Linked DNA regions of Homo sapiens: region 2 is linked to region 1. Evidence: promoter capture Hi-C in 16 types of primary human blood cells and fetal thymus (Javierre and others, 2016). All regions are on one chromosome and are shown on one strand. The core of a region is centred on a gene start or on the middle of the fragment in contact, and the rest is flanking DNA. Distances in the headings are between cores, read along the strand shown.

Region 1 (4,268 bases), core at 866-3,365:
TTCCTATAAGAAAAGAAGAAATACTCTTCTTAATTTTAACATCTGTTAGTGACTATCTTAGGTTTGGCAGGGAATGATTTTTAAAACTAATGGCTTAGGTGAGGCATTAAAATAACTGATGGATTCCAATCACCCTTTTACCTTTCTAATTATTACTGATATCTCAGAGTTGGATGAACAAATGTGCAACATCGTGTTCTGAGATTTAAGAAAATGTCTGGTCTTCCTTTTCGCATAATTTAAAAGACTCTTCATGCACATTTGGTAGTAGATACATTTTAGAAAACATAGGTCCTAAGTACCACCTGATCTTTCAAGCATTCCAGTTGACTGGCTCATAAATTATGAAACCTATGATTTTACTTCTTTTCTACAGATATCCTTTATAGTGAATACTTATGAAATACCCCCACTGAGCTGAAATGACAAATCTTTATTTTAAAATTGTCTATTTAAAACGTGATTAGACTGAGTCGAAGTGAGCGGTGAAGTATAATCAAGTACATTTAATGACTGACAGAGGACACTGTTTTGTGCTTCCAAAGTAATTACACTGATTCCAGAGACTGTAGAAAAAAAAACCTATTTCTGATCTTTTTTCTACTACATACACGTAATGATTGTTGTAATTTGTTAGTATCTGAAGTTTCATTTCCCTTTTACAAAATACAAATTATCACTATAAGGGTAAGATGAATAAAGGTAAAAGGCATTTGCTGATTACAAATGCCTTTCAATGTTTTAATGTCACAAATTAGAGTGTAACCGGGATTGAGATTGTGAACGTCAATGCTTGTCCTAAAAGTTTCCTCCAACTTGCTGAAACTGGATTCCCAAGCATTATCAATTGAGGGTGCAGAGCATGTAACCCAACTTAGCCTCTCCAATAAGTGGAGAATGAGGTGCTGACGAGGAGTTACTTTGGGAGGCTTTTGAGAGCACAATTGAGAAAACATATTTGAGGACACTGCTATGTTCTTAATAAAGTCATTCATTTCAATACCTTTTATTCCTCAAATATTTGCACTCACATTTGTGAAAATCTTAACTTTTCACCATGCTTCAACATTTGGTGAAAAAATAAACAGCAAATAAGATTTTTTTTTCTCAATCCGATCTCCCTGGCTGTTTACTTATAGAGTACTGTAGTTGAAAGTAAGTCGTTCTCAGAAACAACTCAGTCTTTAGCCTCACTTCTAGGTGCGTCCCCAATCTCCGTGCAACTGGACAACTGTATAAATGTGTCCATAACGAAGAAACAGAAAACAGGGAAGTATTAATTTATACTTATGACTTCCGAACAGATGAAATCCTTGTTTAAAAACACCTCTCGGCCAGGTGTGGTGGCTCACGCCTGTAATCCCAGCGCTTTGCGAGGCTAATGCGTTAGGATGGCTCGAGGCAAGGAGTTTGAGTCCAGCCTGGGCAACATAGTAAGACCCTGTCTCAAAAACAACACAGAAAAAACCTCTTACAAGAGCACTTAAGCGGGTGTTAACTAACGTGATCACGGTCTGTAAACGATTCCTAGGTTGTTCCTATGGTTACATAATCTGCAGCAAGGGCGGTGGAGGAGAAGGCAGAGGGTTGGCCGCTGGGACCCCGGCAGGGCACAGCGCACATAGCAAGGTCGCATTCTGAGCGAGTGGGACGCAGCTCGGCCCGCGGGCCTGTGCAAGCTCACAGGACACGCGGGAGGCCGAGGCCTGCGGAGGGCGCGGAGCAACAGGCGCGCCGCGCCGGACGGCTGGGGCAGCAGTCTAAGGTCACTGCAAGACCAGCGTCCCAAGGCTGTTGCCGGGGAAGGGCAGTACCTGCCACGCGGAGCCGGTCGGGCCCGCAAAGCTGCGCCGCTCGGCTCCTTCCAATCAGGTTGGCTCGGCGGCCGCAGGCAGCAACGGGAGGACCCACAGAGGTCACGTCCAAGGCCAGGGCACACAGCGTCCGCCGGGGAAGTCTCATCGCGCGGGGCAGGAGGCAGGGTAAACTGCGCAGGCATTCCATGGTGCTGGAGCAAGAAGCAGGCAGCAGCCAGACCCCAGACCTTCATGCCGGACGCTGGCTGCTCAGGCCGCAGCTCTGACCTGTCGCTACCGCCCGACCTGCAGACTCTGTGCACCAGGCATGCGCGGGGCGTGCCGCGCCTGCGTGCTACTTCCCCACGCATGCTCGGAAGGTACCTGTGGGCGAGCCTGTTAAGTCCACAGCCAATAGACGTTTGCTTGCCTACCTGTACCTGCACCTGTACCTAAGTGAGGGGGCAGGCGGGCTGGGAGATGGGTGGAGCACGTTTACCTGCACTAAGTGAGCTGTCCAACCTAGGTTCTTGGGCGCTTGGAGTGTCATGGTTTTGTAGTTTGTGGAGAATTTTCATACCTATGAAAATTGCAGTTTGGAAATGAGCAGGTTACCCATTCCCACATCATTTAATTTATATTTAAATTTAACGTGGTGTAGGGAGCAAGAGGGAAAGCTCCTACTTTTGCCCTCTGAAAGTTGCTGGAATGAACTAAGTAGACAGATTAGCAGGAGAAAAAGGCATACAAAATTTGCTTAACGTGCATAGGGAAAAATCACAGAAGAGTGATTACTCAATAACTCAATTAAGGTCCAGATGCTTGTATACCCTTCTTTGTTGAGTAGAGGGAGATAGGTATGAATGGGCCCGAAAGCCAGACAGTGGTTTGCAAATGATTCTCCTTGGACATTCAGTGGGACAGAAGTACAAACAATCGCTTGTGGACAAGCTGTGAAACTTCACTCTGAACAAAAATTGTCCTATTATACAGGTAAAGTTTCCCAGGTAATCTCTTGGAGCTACCCTCAGAAGTATCTATGAAAAGTCTCAGTGTGGCTATGACTTTCAGTTTTTGTCTCTTCTCTGGGTGATTAATCTCTTCTGATTATTTAATGCGATTCCTAAGGAACGGGTTTTAAGACAATTGCATTTCTTTGGAAAAGAGTTTTCTCTGTCAGATAAGGAAATTCCTTATCTGGCTGTGCAGGAAAAGAGAGCCCCTTCAGGTGCTTGGAAAAAGTAAGAGTATCAGAGAGACAAAAGGAAGGGGGAAGGTGAGAGAGAGAGGCCTTGATTTTTAGGCTTCTTTCTGAGACCCTTTTAATTTCCTTTAATTCAAAGACTCAACATGCCACCGGGCGTGGTGCCTCATGCCTGTAATCCAGCACTTTGGGAGCCAAGCACTTTGGGAGGCCAATGTTGTGGACCACTTGAGGTTAGGAGTTCAGGACCAGCCTGGCCAACATGGCAAAACCCGTCTCTACTAAAAATACAAAAATTAGCCGGGTGTGGTTGCAGGTGCCTGTAATCCCAGCTACTTGTAAGGCTGAGGCATAAGAATTGCTGGAATCCAGGAGGTGGAGGTTGCAGCGAGCCCAGATCATGCCATTGCATTCCAGCCTGTACTGCATTCCAGCCTGTACGACAGAGTGAGACTCCCATCTCAAAACAAACAAACCCCAAAGACTCAGCATGCCAAAACATCATATTTTGGGGTATTATGGTTTGAGCCCCAGTAGTGGCAAAAATAATCAACTGTCATATGGAATGATGTCATGTATTAAACTTTTGCTATAAAGAATGAGGAGCACAGACACATAAGATTTCTATTCCATATTTAATAAAATGTAAGATAGCATCAATTTTAAGGTACCATTATTTTATGTACCACCAAGAAAGAAAAAAAAACTGATAAGTTATGCTTTCTAAACATGTAGATTGAAAGACATATCTCAATTCCAGTCTTTAAAATATGAAAAAAGTCTTAGGTTAAATACAGTATGTATGCATATTTTAAAAATATGAGTTAATAAATTTATTGTCCCTTCCACAGTAGTAATACAAGGCAGACACAAGTTCCACAGACTTCCTTTCAATATCTATGTATGGACACAAAGCTAAGGAGACAGAGATAGAAACATTTTATTCTGCAGGGTACTGGGACTGGGGATGGAGTAGGAGGGCAGTGCACAAAGAGAAGCCTTCACAGAAGAGAGGATGTTTGACTTGATAATGTGGGGAAAAGAAAGAGAGATCAGATTGTTACTGTGTCTGTGTAGAAAGAAGTAGACATAAGAGACTCCATTTTGTTCTGTACTAAGAACAATTCTTCTGCCTTGAGATGCTGTTAATCTGTAACCCTACCCCCAACCCTGTGCTCCCTGAAACATGTGCTATGTCACCTCAGAGTTAAATGATTAAGGGCTGTGCAGGATGTGCTTTGTTAAACAAATGCTCGAAGGCAGCATGC
Region 2 (3,914 bases), core at 1,371-3,870, 300 kb before region 1:
TTTTATGGTCTTCCCATTTGTGCTGGTTTTTGCCTCTTTGACATCTGTCATCAGTATTTAGAGGGTGAGAAGTGAATGTAACAGGTATAAATAACATTTTTAAAAACAATAACTTTGCTATAATCACAGTTGTTCCAGAGCACTGTCAGATACATTCTAATGACCAGAACTGGTTTAAAAAAAGAAAATACAACCATGGGAAAGAAATCTTAAATGAAAAACGCATCTCATTGTAGGCATTTTTGCCTCATATTTTACTGGGCCATGTTTGTTTCCTGGTACTCATGTATTTTTTTTTTCCAGATCTCTTTCCCCAAGTTGCTATTGTAAGAGTATTCTGCTGCGTGTGGATGCAGTTATACACATTAAAGCAGATCTGGAGTCTGAAGTAGCTATAAAGCAGCTATAAAACAGAAATACATGCATAGCTGCAGAAACCATGATAGGTAGAGGACTTTTCTTTTGGTTTTGTTTTGTTTTGTTTTGTTTTGTTTTTGGTTTTACAGAGAAGAGATTTTTATTACAAAGAAAAAAATTCCAGTGAATTGTGCAGAAATGCTGGTTTTTACACCATCCTAAAGAAAAACTTTACAAGGGTGTTTTGGAGTAGAAAAAAGGTTATAAAGTTGGAATCTTAAATTGTAAAATTAACCATTGAGTGTCAAAGTTCTAAAAGCAGAACTCATTTTGTGCAATGAACATAAGGAAAGACTACTGTATAGGTTTTTTTTTTTTTCTCCTTTTAAATGAAGAAAAGCTTTGCTTAAGGGTTGCATACTTTTATTGGAGTAAATCTGAATGATCCTACTCCTTTGGAGTAAAACTAGTGCTTACCAGTTTCCAATTGTATTTAGCTTCTGGTTGGAATTTGAAAAAAAAAGAAAAAAAGAAAAAGAAAACCTAAATAAAATAGGTGAAAGTTCCCTGACTATTCAGGTGAATACACAAAGTTTGAAGTGTTAACTTTTTCTTTCCATTTCACTGATGTTACTGGTCACCTTAGAGAATTATTTCATAGTCTGTGGCTAAATAGTAAATTCAGAAGAAAAATACCTGGCAATTGAGTGTGTAACTTCAACAAGAACAGGAATCAAGAACATACTGTCAGCTTTCAACAGTTAGCAACCTGGCCTTATGCCTTGCTTCATGGGAAAGGGCCATTCTTAAATTTCAAAATGCTTTCATGTGTCCTCTTATTTAAAAATTAGAATCTATTTGAAATAACATTTTGAATGTTTATTATAACCAGGTACTCTTCTAAGCTCTTGTCTTAACCTCTCAACCTTTGGTGGAAATAGATGCAGAGGTTAAGTAACTTGCTCAAGCTCAGATCATAAGTAGTGGAGGATTTAAAACCAGGCTGGCTGGCTCTTAAGGCCTATGCTCTTAATTTACCATGTTGAATTAATTTACCATATTGAATTACACTTATGTTCACCAAGTTAGGCATTTTGGCAGCCATTGTTTACGTTTTTATTTTGGAATAATTTAGAAAAGTTACCAGAGTAATATGAAAGCTGTTGTGTAATCTTTACCCTCATTTTTATTATTTTGCCACATTTTTTTCATTTTCTCTGTACACTTATACCTGTGAGCTATTTGAGTTTGTTGCACACTTTGTGCTTCCTTACCCCTTCCTTAGTACTTCGGCATATGTTCCAAGTACAAGAATATTTCATATAACTAGAGTAAAATTACCAAACTCAGGGAATGTTGATACTCTTTATCATCCATATTCGTTTTGTTGTCCCAGTATCCTTGGTAGCTTGTTTTAGATCCCCCCCTCTAGAGTACAGGATCATTGAATTTAGTTGTTCTCAGTTGTCTTTAATGTGGAACAGTTCCTTAGCCTTTATGTGTTCCATGACCTCTATGTTTTTTGGAGTACAGGGCAATTTTTCTTGTAAATTGTTACTCATTTTGCATTTGAATTGTTTATTCATGCTTAACGCCCTTCTCAAGTATACTCTCCATCTGCTCTTCATTGATGTTACTTTTGAGCGCCTGGTCAAGGTGTCCTGGTTTTGCCCTATGTGTGGTACTTACTACTAGCAATCTCTGGGAAGCAATGTGCAAATACCCTGTTCCTTTATCAGGAGCTCCCTTGGCGATTCTTTCCAGACTAAAACCCAAACCAGTCTTTAACTATGATGGTTACAAAATAGTGATTTTCCAAATCTAATGCTTTGTCCATTTACAGCATTTGTTGTAAGAGAGTGTTCTATCTCTGCCATTTATTATCTACCTAAACACTATGGCCTCATATTTTTTCCCTCCAAATCATAATTTGCATGCCTTTATTATTTTGAGCATCTCCTTTCATGCATAAGATACTGTAACCTTTCTGTCCCAGCCTCAAGCCCTGGAGTCAGCTGTTTCTCCAAGGAGCCCAGCTTCCTTTTAGTGGGAAATACTAGAAGTAAACATCTGGGACTCCTGTATGCTCACTGCTGCTATTGCTACTGTGGAGTCTTCTGCCCTTTCACAGTGGACAGATCAGCAGGCGATCTAATGTAGGGAAAGGATTTGTCTTTAACTGTTAACTTGACTTAAATTTACTTAAAGCTGCATCCTTTTTAGTCTTTAGTCATGAAATGTTCATTAAGATTCCCTGACAGAAATCAAGTAAGAGTCAGCTGGGTGCAGTGGTTCACACCTGTAAGTCCAGTACTTGGGGGGCCAAGGCAGGAGGATTGCTTGAGCCTAGGAGTTTGAGACGAGGCTGGGCAACAGTGAGACCTTGTTTCTACAAAAATAAAATTAGGCGTGGTGGCACACGCCTGTAGTTCCAGCTACTCAGGAGACTGAGGTGGAAGAATGTCTTGAGCCTGGGATTTTGAGGCTATGGGAAGCTGTGATTGTATCACTCCAGCCTGAGTGACAGAAGCTGTCTCAGAGTGCCACAGTCAACTGAACTTGGAGACTTCTGAGAAGTGAACTTGGTCTTTTCAATACTATAGACTTGGAGGTTTGAGATCTGCATGGTTTTATTCTCGGTACAAGAAAAGGGGCTAGTAGCATGCTTTTTTTCTTCCCCCTCTATTGGACCATTTCCTGTAACACTAACATGCTTAGCCTCAAACTTTTCTTGAGGTCTTTTTTAGGCATATGGCTCAATCTATTTTATTTTTCAATATGGGCTGTAGTTCATATATTTTGAAGTTTCATAATCTTAAAAAAAGGAAATGCAAGTGTAGCTTGGCATTTTAGATCTGGGAAGGACCTAAGATTCGCTAAGGATTGGCCATTGCTGTGGTCTCCATGTGTTTCCCCTAAATTTGTATGTTAAAATCCCAACCCCCAAGGTGATATTAGCAGGTGGGGGTCTTTGGGAAGTTATTAGATCACGAGGGCAGAACCCTCAAGATTGGAGTAAGTGCCCTTACAAAAGAGAACCCAGGCTGGGCACATTGGCTCACACCTGTAATCCCAGCACTTTGGGGGGCCAAGGCAGGCGGATCACCTGAGGTCACGAGTTCGAGACCAGCCTGGCCAACATGGTGAACCCTGTTTCTACAAAAAACTACAAAAATTAGCTAGGTGTGATGGCACATGCCTATAGTCCCAGCTACTTGGGAGGCTGAGGCAGGAGAATCACTTGAACCCAGGGGGCAGAGATTGCAGTGAGCCGAGATCGTGCTGCTGTACTCCAGCCTGGGCAACAGAGCGAGACTCCATTTCAAAAACGAGAACCCAGAGGGCTCACTTGCCCCTTCCACCACACAGTGAGAAGGCACCATCTATGAGCCAGGAAGCGGGCCCTCACCTAACAGGATCTGCTGGGCCTTGACCCAGGACTTTCCAGCTTCTAGAACCATGAAAAATTTCTGTTGTTCCTAGCAGCCCAAACAGAATTAGAACCATTAATTTCTATTTCTCCTTTAGCTTAACACTGGACTTTAGTTTTAATCTTA

What was found. Contacts are between HindIII fragments. The CHiCAGO score rates a contact against its expected background, and 5 or more counts as called.
Region 2: a contact is called between a fragment that was not itself captured here and the fragment with the promoter of MRS2 in region 1, in 1 of 17 cell types (M0 macrophages). The highest score is 7.3, in M0 macrophages.

What each region holds. Positions count from the first base shown.
Region 1 is chr6:24,400,783-24,405,050 of GRCh38, reverse strand. MRS2 (magnesium transporter MRS2) reads right to left here and starts at 2,115. Exons shown (of 11, transcript NM_020662.4): 1 at 1,815-2,115. The coding sequence starts at 2,004. RefSeq lists enhancers at 744-1,478, 3,687-4,268 and a silencer at 3,236-3,530. The HindIII fragment of the contact is 7,340 bases long and covers 1-4,268 here.
Region 2 is chr6:24,701,896-24,705,809 of GRCh38, reverse strand. ACOT13 (acyl-CoA thioesterase 13) reads right to left here. Exons shown (of 3, transcript NM_018473.4): 3 at 764-3,914. It overlaps C6orf62 (chromosome 6 open reading frame 62), which reads left to right. Exons shown (of 5, transcript NM_030939.5): 5 at 1-949. Among named protein-coding and RNA genes, the nearest start is that of C6orf62, 15 kb to the left of the region's middle. The HindIII fragment of the contact is 3,722 bases long and covers 760-3,914 here.